2 separate regions of the Homo sapiens genome follow, and region 2 is linked to region 1. Evidence: promoter capture Hi-C in 16 types of primary human blood cells and fetal thymus (Javierre and others, 2016). All regions are on one chromosome and are shown on one strand. The core of a region is centred on a gene start or on the middle of the fragment in contact, and the rest is flanking DNA. Distances in the headings are between cores, read along the strand shown. Region 1 holds the start of LRRC4 (leucine rich repeat containing 4). Region 2 overlaps SND1 (staphylococcal nuclease and tudor domain containing 1).

Region 1 (2,700 bases), core at 196-2,695:
GGGGGGTGAGATTGGGCATGTCTTTAATGTTGCACATGCCCAAGTTCAGATACTTGAGGTTGAACAGCCCCTCAAAAGCTCCCTCAGAGATATACTCCAGCTTCTTGAGCTCCCCCAAGTCCAGGCGCATGAGGGAGGGCACCCGGTTGAAGGCGTAAGAGGGGATGCTTTCGATGGGGTTGTTGCGAAGCCAGAGCTCCCGCAGCTTGGACAGGTATTCAAAGGCCCCGCTAGGGATGACTGTCAGCCAGTTGTCGAACAGCTCCAGGGTGTTGAGGCTGGCCAGGCCGTTGAAGGCCCCCACCTCAATCTGCCGGATGGAGTTCCTGCCCAACTGCAGGACCTCCAGGTGGTGGAGGTGGCGGAAGGTGTCGGCCTGGATCATCTGGATGTTGTTCTCCATGAGGTTGAGGTACCGGGTGTTCGAGGGAATACCCTGCGGGACCTCGGAGAGGCCCCGGCGCGTGCACACCACCTTGCTGAACTGGTTACTGCACGAGCAGACGGAGGGGCAGTTCTGGGGCCCGGCTGAGGCGGCAGCAGCGATGGCTGCACACAGAATCCACACTTGCGCCGTGAGGTAGACGAACGGGAGCAGGATGGCATTCCAGGTGTGGTGGTGCACAGTTACCTGCCACAAGAGCTTCATGGTGTGGCACGTTCATAATTCACCATCGCCTGGGATTTTGGCTCGGAAAGGAGAACCAGCCCTACCCCGGCTTAAGTGAGCTAGGAGCTCCTCTTTCCATCTGGAGAAGGAGGTGGGGAGGGGGCGATTAGAGAGACGGAGCGGATCGGCCGAAAAAAATCCTGCCAAACTCGAGCGGCCCCTGGTCTCCCAACCCACCCTCAAGGCAAGCCCTCCGAAAGCTACGACTCTCCCACACTGCAACCGTCCCCACCCAGTTCGCCGTCACCTACCTCGGAAGGAAGGCAGGAAAGCACTGGCGTGGTGTCCTTAAGCTTTCTCCACGGGAGCTGGGCACCTCGTTCCCATTCCGACTTCTTAGTTTTAATTAACAAAAGGGGGAAGTGGTGGGGGCGGGGAGGGCAGAGGGGAGGGGAGGGGAGGGGAGGGAAGGGGTGGGGGAGACAAAATGGCCTCTAGTAAATCCGGAGCCGGAGCCGGCGAAGCCGCGGAGTTGAGGCGCGCCTGGGAGAGCCAAGGCCCGGCGGGCTATGCAGGTGCATGCCCCCCCCTCCGCCCAAGGAGCGGCGCCACCAGCGCTTCCCGGCTTTGTCCTTGGACCCTGGCACCGGCTCGCTCCAGCCGCGGGGGAAGGCGCTTCATCGCCAAAGTGCGCTCCGGCGGCCCCGGCCCGCTCTGCGGGCCGCCGCCGGAGGGAGTGCGGGGGCGCCCCGAAGCCGCCCAGGCCGCACTCGCTGGATGCTGCGCTCCCTCTCCCGGCGTCGGCCGCTCCGGGCCGGCGGCAGCTGATTGCGGTCGTGAGCTCGCGGAGCGGCGAGAGTTAAGAGGAGGTGTTCGCGGCGCCTTCGCCCTCCCCAGACACACACCCCCTTTCTCCTCGCCTCTTCTCGGAGGGTGGAAGAGACAAAAACGGGGGGTCAGTTCTCCAGTCCGCCGGCTGCCGGCACGCGGGGCGGCGCTCCGTCCGGCCCCCGAGGACCAGCGGCGTGGCGGCTGCGCTCGGACCCGGTCCGCCGGCCGGAGGAGCGCGCGGCGCCCGCGGTCGCGCCCGCACCGCAGGCCCCTTCAGAGAGTCCGGGGGCGGGCGCGGGTCCGGCGGCGGCGGCGGCCGCAGCCCCCGGCGGCGCGCAACCGCCCGTCGCCGCCCGCCGCTGCCCGGCCCCCGGCGCGCCGCCGGCTCCGGCTTTGTGCGGAGGGAGCGAGTTCGCGGCTTCGGCTCCCGGCGCCCTCAGTGGCCGCGCCGCCAGCGGACTGCTGCAGCGGCGTGAGCAGCGGGGGTCGCGGCTGCGGGAAACGCTCCGGAGCCCAGGAACATAGTCCCCGCTGGCTAGCGGCGGCAGCAGCAGCAGCGGGGCCCCTGCGCGCGGCGCCCACCGTCTCCTCCTCGCGCCGGGCTCGCGGTGTTGCAGGCGGCAGCCACGCAGACTGCTCTCTCATCCTTTTGTCCTTCAGTCAGAACGTGAATGTACTGCTGACGCATACTGTTCTGGGAGAAGATTAGCGTGATGCAGTGCTCTTATGTATTAGCGCCGCTCCCCCTCCGTCGCCTGCCTCGCGGGGTTAACGCCGGCGCCTTCCAGCGCCGCGCCGGCCGGCGCCGCGCAGCCCCGCGCCTCCGGCCGCCCGTCTTCCTCTTTCCTCCTTCCTTCCTCCTCTCTTCCTCTCTCCCCCTCCCCCCTCCCCCCTCCCCGGGCCGCTTCCTCCCCGCCCCCTCTAGACGAGCGGAGCGGGGCCAGGGCGAGCGGGCGAGCGAGCCGGAGTGAGCGTCAAGTGAGGGGCCGCGCGCAAGTCGCAGGCGTTCGCAGCTATTTTGGGCCGGTCGGAGGGAGCAGTTGGGTGGCCGCTGATAGGCTGGAGCGGCGCGGGGCTGCGGCGGGAGAGCCCGCGCCGGCCCCCGCCCTCCGGCCCGCACCCGGGGCCCCCTGGCTCTGAAGAGCGGGGCTCAGGGGCCCGGCGGCCCGCGGCGGGGCTGCTGCATTTGGCCTGCCTCTCGCCCGGCCCGCGTCATCCTCACCCCCGCTGACTGCTGACGGGGCGCGGACTCGCGTTCG
Region 2 (2,700 bases), core at 33-2,532, 150 kb before region 1:
GGGAGACTATTGGCTTAATAAGACAACCTTTGTTTCTGTGCAGCTTCACTTCTCACCTTCCAGTAATGTCTGCCTCCCACTCTCTGGGTCCATTTATTCTCCCTGAAGATTTACTGCTCCTCAAAGAATTACCACATTCCCCATCTCACCCCTCCCCTATGAAAAGGGGTACATAAGCTTCTGTTCCACCCTAGGTTATTGGATAATCATTCTATGATTCCCTCCATGCTATGCACATTAAAATTAAATTTTTTATGCTCTTTCTTTTGTTAATCTGCCTTTTGTCAGCTGATTTTTAGGGAACCTCCAGAGGGCAAAGGGGGAGTTTACCCTCAGCCCCTATAATATTTTTATTCATTTAACCCAGGTTCTTTTTTACCAAGTAGTATATTCCTTTTAAGTTAGCTCTACTTATGGGCACCAAATATTCAAAGTCACAGAATGCATGAATGAGTGAGAAAGAGTATATATGTATATGGGGAAAGTTTTATCTTTATTGTCCCCGTTGAAATATGCATTACCTTTGGCTGTAAATATAACTGGACAGGCAAATGCAAAACACACAGTCTGGTTCTCTCATTGAAAAGCTCGCTCTGCCCCTTCATGGTTTGACTCTATGGAAAGTTAGCGGTGGTTGGTGTTTGGTGTCAAATGGAAACAATTTTTTTTGTTTTTGAGACAGTCTCACTCTGTCACCGAGTCTGGAGTGCAGTGATGTGACACTCTGTCACCCAGTCTGGAGTGCAGTGGTGTGACCATGGCTCACTGTAGCCTTGATCTCCTGGACGCAAGAGATCCTCCTGCCTCGCCCTCCCAAAGTGTTAGAATTATAGGCGTGAGCCACCCCAACAGCCAAAACAATTCATTCTTAAAGCAGTTGGGGCAGAGGCTGGACGCAGTGGCTCATGCCTGTAATCTCAGCACTTTGGGAGGCCAAGGTGAGAGGATCACTTGGGCCCAGGAGTTCACAACCATCCTGGGCAATATAGCAAGCCCCTGTCTCTACAGTAAAAATTCAAAAATGAGCCAAGCATGGTGGCATGTGCCTGTAGTCCTAGCTACTCAGGGGGCTGGGGTAGGAGGATCCCTTAAGCCCAGGAGTTTGAGGCTGTAGTTACTATGATCATACCACTGCACTGTAGCCTGGGTGACAGGGCATGACCCTGTCCCTTTTATATATGTTAAAAAAAGGAAAAGCAATTAAGGCAGATCAAAGGCATATGTGCTCAGAGGGGTAGTCTGGCTTGGGGTGTCAGAGCCCCATAGGAGGGGAAGGAAGGCAGGCAGGAAGGGAGGGAGGAAGGGAGGGAGGGAGGGAGGGACGGAGGAGAAAAGAGGAGAGGAGGGGAGGGGAGGGGAGGGGAAGAGAGGGGAGAGGAGAGGAGAGGAATTTAATTATTTTGGAAATAGAGCACTGGAACATTATTTTCCTAGCCAAGTTTTCCCAGCATGTAATCAAGGACGATAACTTTCTGCATGCTTTCCCAGCTTTTGTCTTCCTCCTCTCAATTATCTGGGACTTCAATTTAAAAAGAGAATGAAAGGGAGGGAGAGAAAGTGGAATTAGCCTAGATCCATGTACTTGACTGTCTCATTCATTTCTTTTGGCTGCTAATGAAAGGTCAGGAAATTTTCCCCTGGCTACAGATGGCTCAGAACCTGACACTACTGAGTTGATCAGTTGCCCAGTAAGAAAAGAGAACATTAAATTGTGTGCCATGACATTATGCTGCTTTAGACAAATTTATAAATTCTGCTTTCTTGAGTGTATCAGTAATTCTACTCCAATTACACATGTCTGGCCTGAATGGATAATTCACAATCGGCATATAAAAAGGGACCTAACAACCTTGGAAGTCTAACAGTAAGCCATCACTCTCCATGTCAGCTAGAAACAAAAAGAGAATTAGTGCTAGGACTGAAATGCTTCTCCAAACTAAAAGAGATGTTTAGGGTTCTACTAAAAGTCAACAGTTTCCATTAGGCATGATCAGGTGGTTCCTGATATAAACAAACACAGGTGACATGGGTCTCACAGGCAGTCTTGCCCAAAAGATAGACGAGCAGTTGACATCTTCCCCTCTAGTTAATTTCCATGCAAGCAGGTTGTAATATAAGCTCAAACTTAGCCACTATAAGATAGTAGTGAAACCGTGGGGTCCAATATTATGCCAACATGGAGAAAATATGTTCCATACCCATACAAGAGAACAGGAATCCTAGGGGGTAAAATTCAATTGTAGTAGGCCTTAATTGTTTGATCATATTTTTGCCTGCCTTCCCTACCTCTAACAATATTGGAAGTAACAATATATTGACAATTGATAATTTGTCTAAAACTGTCCAGTTTACTTCACAATGTGTGTTTGTGTTAATTTTGAAACCACTTAAGCTTATAGAAAAGTTGCACATAACTGTACAAAGAGCATACCTTTCAACTATTTAAGAGCAACTGGCCGATCTATTGTACCTCTCCTCAGATAATTTATCTTGCATTTTCTATGAGGCAGGACATTTTCCTGCATACTCAGAAAACATTAGAACTTGGATATTAACACATTGCTATCATCTAATCCACAAACCTACTCAAATTTTGCCAACTGTTCTAATGGAATACTTCAAGAAAACGATCTAGTTCAGAATCAGGTGTTGCAGTTAGAGGTCATGTCACTCTAGTCTGGAATAGTTCTTCAGTCTTTC

What was found. The method cuts DNA at HindIII sites, captures the fragments that hold promoters and counts their contacts. A CHiCAGO score of 5 or more calls a contact.
Region 2: a fragment that was not itself captured here is called in contact with the fragment with the promoter of LRRC4 in region 1 in 1 of 17 cell types (neutrophils); the score reaches 5.1 in neutrophils.

Annotation. Positions count from the first base shown.
Region 1 is chr7:128,029,992-128,032,691 of GRCh38, forward strand. LRRC4 (leucine rich repeat containing 4) reads right to left here and starts at 1,446. Exons shown (of 2, transcript NM_022143.5): 1 at 922-1,446; 2 at 1-749. The coding sequence starts at 649. The region is part of intron 16 of SND1 (staphylococcal nuclease and tudor domain containing 1); the gene reads left to right. RefSeq lists silencers at 1,890-2,009, 2,660-2,700. The HindIII fragment of the contact is 11,709 bases long and covers 962-2,700 here.
Region 2 is chr7:127,881,084-127,883,783 of GRCh38, forward strand. All of the region lies in intron 12 of SND1 (staphylococcal nuclease and tudor domain containing 1), which reads left to right. Among named protein-coding and RNA genes, the nearest start is that of SND1-IT1, 120 kb to the right of the region's middle. The HindIII fragment of the contact is 2,215 bases long and covers 176-2,390 here.